Regions from separate parts of the Homo sapiens genome. Here region 2 is linked to region 1. The links are contacts of gene promoters, found by promoter capture Hi-C in human tissues and cell types (Jung and others, 2019). All regions are on one chromosome and are shown on one strand. The core of a region is centred on a gene start or on the middle of the fragment in contact, and the rest is flanking DNA. Distances in the headings are between cores, read along the strand shown. Region 1 holds the start of PLK3 (polo like kinase 3). Region 2 has its middle 45 kb from the start of LINC01144.

Region 1 (5,964 bases), core at 1,426-3,925:
GGGTTTCACTATGCTTCCCAGGCTGGTCTCAAACTCCTGGACTCAAGCGATCTGCCTGTCTCAGCCTCCCAAAGTGCAGGGATTACAGTCATGAGCCACCACTGCACGGCCCCAAAATTTATTTATTTTATTATTATTATTATTTTTTAGATGGAGTCTCCTTCTGTTGCCAGATTGGAATGCAGTGCCACGATCTCAGCTCACTGCAACCTCCCCCTCCTGGGATCAAGTGATTCTTTTTTTTTTAAGACTCTGTCTCAAAAAAAAAGAAAAAAAAAAAAAATATATATATATATATATATATACACGAATTTTGGGCCAGGCACAGTGGCTTATGCCTGTAATCCCAGCACTTTGGGAGGGCCGAGGTGGGTGGATCACAAGGTCAGGAGTTTGAGACCAGCCTGGCCAATATGGTGAAACCCTGTCTCTACTAAAAAATACAAAAATTAGCTGGGCGTGGTGGCACGAGCCTGTAATCCTGGCTACTCTGGAGGCTAAGGCAGGAGAATCGCTTGAACCGGGGAGGCAGAGGTTGCAGTGAGCCAGGATCGCATCACTGCACTCCAGCCTGGGTAACAGAGCAAGACTCTGTCTCAAAAAACAAACAAAACAAAACAAAACAAAATAAATAACGGTGCAAAATTGAATATGCCTTTTTGACTCTCTAAATGCCTCAGATCCATTTACCCTGGGGATTTGTCCTTTCTAGCCCCACCACCATCTCCCCTCTGGAAGACTGCTGACCTATAAGGATAAAGACCAGACTCTTGAGCAGGCACTTAGGGTCTTCCTGCCCATCCCTATCCCCAACTCCCCCTCAGTAATTTTGGCTACTAGTATTTCTCCACATCTGAGGCTATCGTGGGTCTCCCTTCAGTGGTCATGAAGGACAAGGTTGGAGAAGTTTGCCCTCGTGAGTCTGATGAGGGATTGGGTGGGATCCCTCTAATAGCATATGGAGGGGATGAAATGGGCATGAGACCAAAGGCCAGGAGAGCAGCAAGGAGCTGTGGCAATCATCCTGACAAGAGAGACTGTGGCCCAGGCCAGGGTGTGAGGGGAAGATGGAGCCAAGGGGATAGATATCAGAGCTATTTGGGAGGTAAAATTGGCACAAATTGGGTACTCAGCAAATATTTGTTGACTTTCCTGGCTACTCTTTCTAAAGTAGGCTCTTCATTTGCTCTTCTGTTTATTCTTCCTTCATAGCACTTTTCACAGCCTGCAATTACCTTGTTTATCTGCTTGCCTATTGTCTGTTTCCATCAAGCAGAATGTAAACTAAATGAGGGCTGCAAGCTTGATTAGTTTTATTCGAGATAGTGTCCAGCACTTAGCAGATGCTCTCAATAAATCTTTGAGGAATGGCATGGTAATTGATTGGCTGGCACAGAGGGAGGGCAGAGAGGTGAGAGACAAGGCCAGGAGGCCTGTGGTCCTGGGCCTCTGTCTCTGGCCCTGGGAAGGGTGGGCATTGCGCAGGGGTCTAGGGGTCCACGTGGTCCAGAGACTAGCTGCCCAAGTGCCCGTGTCTAGCATTTGAGAAAATGCAATTCCCAGCCAGGCAAGGTGGCTCACGCCTGTAATCCCAGCACTTTGGGACGCCGAAGCGGGTAGATCACCTGAGGTTGGGAGTTCCAGACCAGTCTGACCAACATGGAGAAACCCCGTCTCTACTTAAAAAAAAAAAAATACAAAATTAGCCGGGTGTGATGGCGCATGCCTGTAATCCCAGCTGCTCGGGAGGCTGAGGCAGGAGAATCGCTTGAACCTGGGAGGCAGAGTTTGCGATGAGCCAAGATCGCGCCATTGCACTCCAGCCTAGGCAACAAGAGCGAAACTCTGTCTCAAAAAAAAAAAAAAGAAAGAAAGAAAGAAAAAAGAAAATCCAATTCCCATTCACTTTCTGGCCTCTGGCTGCTGACCCAGGCCCGGGGGTATTTTCAGAGGAAGGGAATTGCGGACCCCGGAGGAACCCGAAATTTGCCCCTCAAGAGTGTAGAAGTGGGTAGCGGAAGATGTGGCCTGGAGCATGGTAAAAGCCTTGAAATTCCAGACTCTGCTTGACTCCTAAACCTGGCAAGGCAGCCCTCGGGCCAGGCAAGCCAGGCGCGAGACTGTGCCTTCCTTCCAGGCCCTAAAGAGGGCAGCACTGGGCCGGGCCCCGGGCGAGGGCGAGGGACACACGCGGTCCGGCACACTGAAAGGGGAGTGTCGGGTAACATGCCCGGGCAAAAGCGAGCGCCGCCCCTGCCTCTCCGCTGCTGGCTGGAACGCTGATCTATCTAGTTGCTGGGGAGACGCCCCCAGATGCCCGGGCCCCACTCGGACTTCAGCACACATCCCGAAGGATGGGGAAAGAAAGAGGCCCCCACGAGCGGGACTCGCAGTGGCCAAGGAGGGGTGAGAGGCGGACAGGGATCAGCTGGCCCCTGCGGCCTGGTTGCACCTGCATGGTGACTAGCTGCCGGGCTGCGCCCCGGGGCGCGGCGAGGAGGCGGGGTCTGGCAGTGCGTTGGGTGGGGGAGGAGCTTCTGGGTGATGTAAGGCCGGGAATGGGAGTGGCCTCTCCTCGACTCGCTGCTAGGAAGGGGGCGGGACTCTCGGTGACCAGACGCCGGGGAGGGGGCAGGCGTTCATTGATAAAACGCTGGGCTCCCCTGGGCGCCAGCGCAGCGTAGCAAATCCAGGCAGCGCCACGCGCGGCCGGGGCCGGGCGGAACCGAGAAGCCGGGACCGCGCTGCGACGCGCCGGCCGCATGGAGCCTGCCGCCGGTTTCCTGTCTCCGCGCCCCTTCCAGCGTGCGGCCGCCGCGCCCGCTCCCCCGGCCGGGCCCGGGCCGCCTCCGAGTGCCTTGCGCGGACCTGAGCTGGAGATGCTGGCCGGGCTACCGACGTCAGACCCCGGGCGCCTCATCACGGACCCGCGCAGCGGCCGCACCTACCTCAAAGGCCGCTTGTTGGGCAAGGTGGGCCGAGGGACGTCCGCGGGGTGGTGATGGTGGAGGTGGGGGTCCCGGCCGGCCTCTTTTCTGGCGCCGAGCAGGGCGTGGGCACTTGACCCCCAACGCGGGGACGCCCGCGGGCCAGACTCGGCCCCCCTGGAACAACCAGCCTGATGCCCCCTCTTCACAGGGGGGCTTCGCCCGCTGCTACGAGGCCACTGACACAGAGACTGGCAGCGCCTACGCTGTCAAAGTCATCCCGCAGAGCCGCGTCGCCAAGCCGCATCAGCGCGAGAAGGTGGGTCCAGGCTCAGCGGGCGAGGGGTGGGGTGGGGACGGTGGCATGGGAACCATGGAAGGATGACGACTCCGCGCCCTCATCGCAGATCCTAAATGAGATTGAGCTGCACCGAGACCTGCAGCACCGCCACATCGTGCGTTTTTCGCACCACTTTGAGGACGCTGACAACATCTACATTTTCTTGGAGCTCTGCAGCCGAAAGGTGAAAGATGGTGATTCCCGCAGGGATGAGAGTGAGGGAGAGAAGACAGTCTTTTTTTTTTTTTTTTTTTTTTTTGAGATGGAGTCTTGCTCTGTTGCCCAGGCTGGAGTGCAGTGGCGCGATCTCGGCTCACTGCAATCTCTGCCTCCCGGGTTCAAGCAATTCTCCTGCCTCAGCCTCCTGAGTAGCTGGGATTACAGGCATGCACCACCACGCCCGGCTAATTTTTGTATTTTTAGTAGAGACAGGGTTTCACCCTGTTGGTCAGGCTGGTCTCAAACTCCTGACCTTGTGATACACCTGCCTTGGCCTCCCAAAGTGCTGGGATTACAGGCGTGAGCCACTACACCCAGCCGAGAAGACAGTCTTAAGACCCAAAGCTGGGGCCCTGTTTCTTCCTCAGGGAGCACAGATGGAGGGGGAGGGGGAGGGAGGGCTCACCAGGGGCTGAGGCAGTGGCTCTCTGCAGTCCCTGGCCCACATCTGGAAGGCCCGGCACACCCTGTTGGAGCCAGAAGTGCGCTACTACCTGCGGCAGATCCTTTCTGGCCTCAAGTACTTGCACCAGCGCGGCATCTTGCACCGGGACCTCAAGTTGGGTGAGACTCCTGAGCCTGGAGGATGGGAGGTTGGGGAGGGAGGGAGGGAGGGAGGAAGGAAAGAATCTGACACACCTCTCTTGCCCCATCTAGGAAATTTTTTCATCACTGAGAACATGGAACTGAAGGTGGGGGATTTTGGGCTGGCAGCCCGGTTGGAGCCTCCGGAGCAGAGGAAGAAGTGAGTTTTGAGGAAAGGGGCCCTGTGTGTGATACAGATGACATGCGTGATAGACAGTGCATATGTATGTGGGAGGCAAGGTGACTGCCTGATGTGTGCATGAGATAAATGGGAAGGGATGATGGGCTGTTCATGCATGTGTGAAGGTGGAGGTGGCAGCCTGTGTTACCGAGACCGGTGGAGAGGGGGAGGATCCTATAGGTGTATGACACAGATAGGGTAGGTGACTCTGAGTCCCTGAGACAGATGGGGGTATACAGATTCTTGGAGGCACATGACTTACCCTTTGTGTGGATGGGGGAAGGTGACAGGCAGCGTGTATGTGTGTGTGAGAGACAGACTGAGAGTGTGGAAATGGTGGGATATGACATTGTGGGTGTAAGAAGACCCTGCTGTGGCCATCATACTTTGTGTGTGTGACACAGATAGCGTATGTGGCAGATGAGTGTTTATGGGGGTTGTGACAGCTGGTGTTGGTGTGTGTGTGGCACAAACCGTGGGAGGTGACAGCCTGATGCCTGTCTGACAGACAGGAGTGCAGGAAGGGGGAAGGGATCAGCTGTGGACTCTCTGTGTTGACCCTAGAGGAGAGGACTGGGCTGGGGGTCAGGCCCTCCCCCTGTCATGAAGAGCAGCTGAGCAGCTGGGCCAGGCGGGTGGGCGGGGACTCAGCTGCCATCCCTGGCATCCATTGTCCCAGGACAAGCAGGAGTTCTCTGGCCTTTGGTGACAGGCAGCTGCTTTGTCTGGACTAACAGTGGGGGAAGGAGTCGGGGGGCTGCTGGGCTGGGTCTCAGCCTTCTCTCCTCCTCCCCACCCTCTTTCAGGACCATCTGTGGCACCCCCAACTATGTGGCTCCAGAAGTGCTGCTGAGACAGGGCCACGGCCCTGAGGCGGATGTATGGTCACTGGGCTGTGTCATGTGAGTTGCAGGGTCCAGGTTCAGCAGCAGACAGGTGGTGGGTGTGTGGGTGGAGCATCTCCTCCACTTTACTCCTGACCCCTTGGCCCTGCCCTATAGGTACACGCTGCTCTGCGGGAGCCCTCCCTTTGAGACGGCTGACCTGAAGGAGACGTACCGCTGCATCAAGCAGGTTCACTACACGCTGCCTGCCAGCCTCTCACTGCCTGCCCGGCAGCTCCTGGCCGCCATCCTTCGGGCCTCACCCCGAGACCGCCCCTCTATTGACCAGATCCTGCGCCATGACTTCTTTACCAAGGTCTGTGGCTCCCCAGACCTCTAAGTCCATCTGTGTATTCCCAGGGATTGAAAGGGGGCAGGTGACAGGACCCCTGGAGCCTCTCTTCTCTGTTCACATGGTTCCCCTCCCTAGGGCTACACCCCCGATCGACTCCCTATCAGCAGCTGCGTGACAGTCCCAGACCTGACACCCCCCAACCCAGCTAGGAGTCTGTTTGCCAAAGTTACCAAGAGCCTCTTTGGCAGAAAGAAGAAGAGTGAGTCTGGGGTGTCAGTGGGTTGAGGGGGCAGAGCAGTAGAGCGGCTTGTCACATTTGTCTTGGGTGTGTGAGTGTGGGTGCCTGGAAACTCCTGGGGAGAGCATGTGCAGTACAGGCACTTGGGGAGGCCAATCTCTGTGTCATCCCTGTCGGAAGTGGAGGGGCTGGGCAGGATACTGAGGACGGTATCACCTTTCACCCCCAGGTAAGAATCATGCCCAGGAGAGGGATGAGGTCTCCGGTTTGGTGAGCGGCCTCATGCGCACATCCG
Region 2 (5,964 bases), core at 1,937-4,436, 460 kb after region 1:
TGCCTATTCTATAGCAAAGTTCAAGTCCCTACCATGATTCTAATCTTGTTTTATGAAAGCATCTTCAATCTCCAAACATGGAAGGGGGTCAGTTTTCCTTACCTCAAAGTTTAGCTATAAACTAAATTCCTTTCACAGTTATCTTGGCCTCTATACCAGAATAAGCAAAAAAGCAATTTAGCCTGTGAGATTAGAAGCAAGATGCAATTAGTCATGTTAGATTTCTCTCTCATTACTGGCCTGACATGGTAGTTCACGCCTGTAATCCCAGCACTTTGGGAAGCTGAGGCAGGCGGATCACTTGAGGTCAGGAGTTTGAGATCAGCCTGGCCAACATGGCGAAACACTGTCTCTACTTAAAAAAAAATACAAAAATTAGCTGAGCACGGTGGTGTGCAACTGTAATCCCATCTACTCAGGACACTGAGGCAGGAGAATTGCTTGAACACAGTAGGCAGAGGTCACAGTGAACCAAGATTACACCACTGCACTCCAACCTGGGTAACAGAACAAGACCCTGTCTCAAAAAAAAAAAAAAAAAAAAAAAAAGATTTATCTCTCATTACTTATAATTCTGCAAGGGTGGTTTCAGATGCAGGGAGTGATCAGGACCTGGGAAGATTTGTGAGTCATCAACTTATAGATGGTAGTTAAAACCAAGGGAAGTGATAAGGCCAAATATACCCAGACTCTAAAATATTAATGGATTAAAAAGTAATGCCAATTTCTCTAGGACAAACTTCTGGTGAATAGTGAATAACCTACGTTCCAATAATATAATTTCTTCCCATGGTATTTTTTTTTGGCGGGGGTGGGGGGTATAGGGTTTCACTCCTATCACCCAGGCTGGAGTGCAGTGGCATGATCTTGGCTCACTGCAACCTCTGCCTCCCAGGCTCAAGTGATCCTTTCACCTCAGCCTCCCAAGTATCTGGGACTACAGGCACCCACCACTGCACCTAGTTAATTTTTGTTTTTATAGAGACAGGGTTTTGCCATGTTGCCCAGGCTGGGATTAAACTCCTGAGCTCGAGTGATCCACCTGCCTTGGTGTCCCAAAGTGCTGGGATTACAGGCATGAGCCACTGCACCTGCACACTCCCCCATGGTATTTAATAAAGCTTCATTTAGTTTTCCATTTCATTTTTTATTCCATTTAAAAATTTTTAAATGCAACAAGAGAGGAGAGGTGGAGGACAACTATATAGTAAGGAAACCTGTCAAATACTAACTCAGCTTGGTTATCAAGGTTAACATCATCACTGACAGGTCATGTGATATGGTTTGGATCTGTGTCCCGGCCCAAGTCTCATGTTGAATTGTAATCCCCAATGTTGGAGGTGGTGCCTGGTGGGAGGTGATTATATGATGGGGGTGAACTTCTTGTGAGTGGTTTGGCACCATCATTTTGGTGCTGTCCTCACCATAGTAAGTGAGTTCTTGTGACACCTGGTCATTTAAAAGTGTGTGGCACCTCCTTCCCCTCTCTTTCTTGCTCCTGCTTTCACCATGTGACATGCTTGCTCTCCCTTCACCATCCACCATAATTGGAAGCTTTCTGAGGTCTCCCAAGAAGCTGCTATGCTTCCTGTACAGCCTGCAGAACAATGAGCCAATTAAACCTCTTTTCTTTATAAATTACCCAGTCTCAGGTATTTCTTTATAGCTGTGCAAGAATAGACTAATACAGAAAGTTGGTATTGAGGAGTGGGGCATTGCTATAAAGACACCTGAAAATGTGGAAGCAACTTTGGAATTGGGTAATGGGCAGAGGTTGGAAGAGTGTGGAGGGTTCAGAAGAAGAAAAGATGATGAGGGAAAATTTGGAACGTTCTAGAGACTTGTTGAATAGTTGTGACCAAAATGCTGATAGTGACATGGACAGATATTGGACAGGCTGAGGAGGTCTCAGATGGAAATATGGAACTTATCGTGAACTGGAGCAAAGGTCACTTTTGCTATGCTTTAGCAAAGAGCTTGGTTGGATTGTGCCCCTGCCCTAGGGATCTATGGAATTTTGAACTTGAAAGAGATGATTTAGGGTATCTGGTGGAAGAAAGTTCTAAGCAGAAAAGTGTTTGAGACGTGGCCTGGCTGCTTCTAACAACCTATAGCTCATATGTATGAACAAAGAAATGACCTGAAACTAAAACTTATATTTAAAGGGGAAGCAGAGCATTAAAATTTGGAACATTTGCAGCCTGGCCATGTGGTAGAAAAGAAAGGCCCATTTTCAGGAAAGGAATTCAAGCAGGCTGCAGAAATTTTCATAAGTAAAGAGGAGCAAAGTGATAATATCCAAGACAATGGGGGAAGAGCTTCAAAGGCATTTCAGAGACCTTCAAGGCATCCCCTCCCATCACAGGCCTGGAGGTCTAGGAGGACAAAATGGTTTGTGGGCCAGGCACAGGACAGCCTTGGGACACTGCTGCCTGTGTGCCAGCCACTCTAACTCTAGCTGTGGCTAAAAAGGGCCCAAGTACAGCTTGGGCCACTGCTTCAGAGAGTGCAAGTAATAAGCCTTGACAGTTTGCACATGGTGTTAAGCCTACAGGTGCACAGAGTACACAAGTTGAGGCTTGGGAGCCTCCGCCTAGATTTCAGAGGATGTATGGAAAACCCTGTATGTCCAGGCAGAAGCCTGCTGCAGGAGTGGAGCCCTCATGATGAACCTCTTCTAGGGTGATGCAGAGGGAAAATATGAGGTTGGACCCCACACACAGAGTCCCCACTGAGGCACTGCCTAGTGGAGCTGTGAGAAGAGGGTTATCATCCTCCAGACCCTGGAATGGAAGATCCACTGGCAGCTTGCACCCTGTGCCTGGAAAGCCATAGGCACTCAATGCCAGCCCCTGAGAGCAGTTGTTCTGGGGGCTGAACCAGCAAAGCCACAGGAGCAGAGCTTCCCAAGGCCTTGGGAGCCCCTTCCCTTGCATCAGAGTGCCCTGGATGTGAGACATGAATTCGAAGGAGATTATTTTTGAGCTTTAAGATTTAATGGTTGCCCTGCTGGGTTTTGGACTTGCATGGTGCCTGTAGCCCCTTTCTTTTGGCTGATTTCTCCTTTTTGAAATAGGAGTATTTACCCCAGGGGTGTTCAATCTTTTGGCTTCCCTGAGCCACAGTGGAAGAAGAATAGTCTTGGTCCACATATAAAATACACTAACACTAACGAGAGCTGATAAGCTAAAAAAAAATTGCAAAACATATCTCATAGTGTTTTAAGAAACTTGTGTTGAGCCATGTCCAAAGCTGTCCTGGGCTGCATGTGGCCCATGGGCCATGAGTTGGACAAGCTTGATTTACACAACAGCTATACCCCCACTGTCTCTGGAAGTAACTAACTTGTTTTTGATTTTACGGACTCATAGGTGGAAGGGACTTCCCGTTTCAGATGAGACTTTGGACTTTGGACTTTGGACTTTTGGGTTAATGCTAGAATAAGTTAAAATTTTGGGGGACTGTTGGAACGCATGGTTGTACCTTGAAATGTGAAAATGACATGAGATTTGGGAGGGGCTGGGGGTAGAATGATATGGTTTGGATCTGTGTTCCTGTCCAACTCTCATGTCAAATTGTAATCCGCAATGTTGGAGGTGGGGCCTGGTGGAAGGTAATTGAATCATGAGAGTGTTTCTCATGGATGGCTTAATACCATCCCCCTGGTTGCTGTTCTCATGATAGTGAGTGAGATCTCATGAGATCTGGTTGTTTAAAAGTGTGTAGCACCTTCCCCCTCTCTCTCTTCCTCTTGGTCTGGCCATGTGAGATGCCTTGCTTCACCTTCACCTTCCACCATGATTATAAGTTTCCTGAGGCCTCTCCAGAAGCTGCCATGCTTCCTATACAGTCTGCAGAACCATCAGCCAATTAAACCTCATTTCTTTATAAATTACCCAGTCTCTGGTATTTCTTCATAGCAGTGTGAGAGAAGACTAATACCTCATGTTAATGGCAATGTACCCTTGATATTGAAACTGAGGACAAACCCAATTAGGCCCACCAAATTTAACTTACCTTACTTGTCTTTATTAATTTGCTTTTAGTTGATTTTAAAACCTATATAGCTAAAAGTCACATTGCTAAGTAATATATAACTAAATTTCCACTAGCTTTCTTGTAGATAACATTTCTGATGTATAGATCACCATGGTAATGGTTGCTTAAGTTGTTTTTCAGGAACTTAGAGAGTCAGTTCTTGTCCAGTTCAAGCCAGCTGAGACCACCAACCTTTCAACTGGGCCTGTGTGAGCATCTGATGGGTCACCTTTTGATGTCAGAGGGCCAAAAACTCCACCCTCAGATCATGCTAATGCTGTAATTTTCTGAACATATATTCTATGAAGAGCCATGAAGTCTGTTATGCTTGCACAGATGACCAATTACCTCAGTTTTCCTTACCACGATCACCTTTCCCCATGCTTTGGACCATCTTGCTCCTCTATTCTATAAATATCCCTAAAATTCCATCTTCAGGGAGGCAGATTTGAGACCTGTTTTCCCATATCCTTGTTTGGCTGCCTCATGAATAAACTCTTCCTCTGCAGCAAAACACATCATCTCAGTGATTGACATACTGCATGACAGGAAGAAGAAGCCTGGTTCAGTAACAATATGATGGGATGAGAATGGTATTTCACCTCTGTGATTTTTTCCAAAACCTATGACCCCAGTCTAACCATGAGAAAAACACTGGACAAATACGGACATTTGCAAAAACAAACAAACCCTGGCCAGTGCTTCTCAAAACTGTCAAAGTCATCAAGGACAACAAAGTATGAGAAACTATCACAGACCAGAAGAAGCTAGGGAGACATGATGACAGAATGTAATGTGGTGTCCTGAAGAGGATCCTCAAACAGCAAATGGACTTTGGGGGGAAAACTGGTGAAATGCTAATAAAGTGTTTAATTTATAGTCACGTACCAATGTTGATTTCTTAGTTGTGATATATGTCCCATGGTAATATAGGATGTTAACAATAGGGGAAACTGAGTGAGGGGTATGTGAGAATTCTCTGCCCTATCTTCACAACTTTTGTTTACATTTGAAACTATTCTGAAATTAAAAGCATAATTAAACAGCTGCACCCAGTAAACATTTCTGTTTTCCTTGAGTTCGCTTTTAGGCAAAAAATATTTCTCCCTGTGGTGTAGAGTGAGAAAAGCTGTGTAGAGAGAATGGCCCCTGAGGAAAACCAACATTTACAAGGCAGTCAGAGAAAGGAGGAAAGACAAGAACCATTGTTGAAGTCAGGAGAGTACAATGTTTAGGAGAGGGTCAACAGGATCCAATGCCAAGAAGTCTAGTAAGATAAGGACCTAAATGTCCACCAAAAAATAGAATTAAAAAGCCCTGAAACAGACATACATCTAAATGGAAACTTGATATATTATAAGGTAGCCTTATGAATCAGTGGGGGAAATGTTGAGTTATTCAATAAATGATTTTTGGGCAGTCAGTTACCCATATTGATCCCTACCTCATAGCATTTATAAAAAATCAACTCCAGCCAGGCACCATGGCTCATGCCTGCAATCCCAGCACTTTGGGAGGCCAAGGCAGGCAGATCACCTGAGGTCAGGAGTTCAAGACCAGCCTGACCAACATGGTGAAACCCCATCTCTACTAAAAATACAAAAATTAGCCAGGCATGGTGACGTGTGCCTATAATCCCAGCTATCCAGGAGGCTGAGGCAGGAGAATCACTGGAACCCGGGAGGTGGAGGCTGCAGTGAGCCGAGATTGCACCACCGCACTCCAGCCTGGGCGACAGAGCAAGACTCTGTCTCAAAAAAACCCAAAAAATTAACTCCATGTCAAGGACTTGAATGTGAAGAAAAACCTGTATAAATCATTTAGAAGAAAATATAGGAGAATTTTTTTACCTCAGGATAGAGTAAGATTTCTTAAACAAGATTCCATATCTTCTAACTATAAAATAAAAGATTAATAAACTTTAAA

What was found. The method cuts DNA at HindIII sites, captures the fragments that hold promoters and counts their contacts. A contact is called where the count stands out against the background at its distance.
Region 2: a fragment that was not itself captured here is called in contact with the fragment with the promoter of PLK3 in region 1 in 2 of the 25 tissues and cell types used here (adrenal gland and dorsolateral prefrontal cortex).

The regions. Positions count from the first base shown.
Region 1 is chr1:44,797,702-44,803,665 of GRCh38, forward strand. It overlaps PLK3 (polo like kinase 3), which reads left to right and starts at 2,676. Exons shown (of 15, transcript NM_004073.4): 1 at 2,676-2,972; 2 at 3,139-3,246; 3 at 3,335-3,451; 4 at 3,921-4,050; 5 at 4,144-4,231; 6 at 5,059-5,154; 7 at 5,254-5,452; 8 at 5,567-5,690; 9 at 5,899-5,964. The coding sequence starts at 2,763. RefSeq lists enhancers at 1,680-2,348, 2,033-2,092, 2,143-2,532, 3,303-3,352 and a silencer at 2,633-2,912. The HindIII fragment of the contact is 15,221 bases long and covers 1-5,964 here.
Region 2 is chr1:45,255,845-45,261,808 of GRCh38, forward strand. No RefSeq gene overlaps it. Among named protein-coding and RNA genes, the nearest start is that of LINC01144, 45 kb to the right of the region's middle. The HindIII fragment of the contact is 5,578 bases long and covers 398-5,964 here.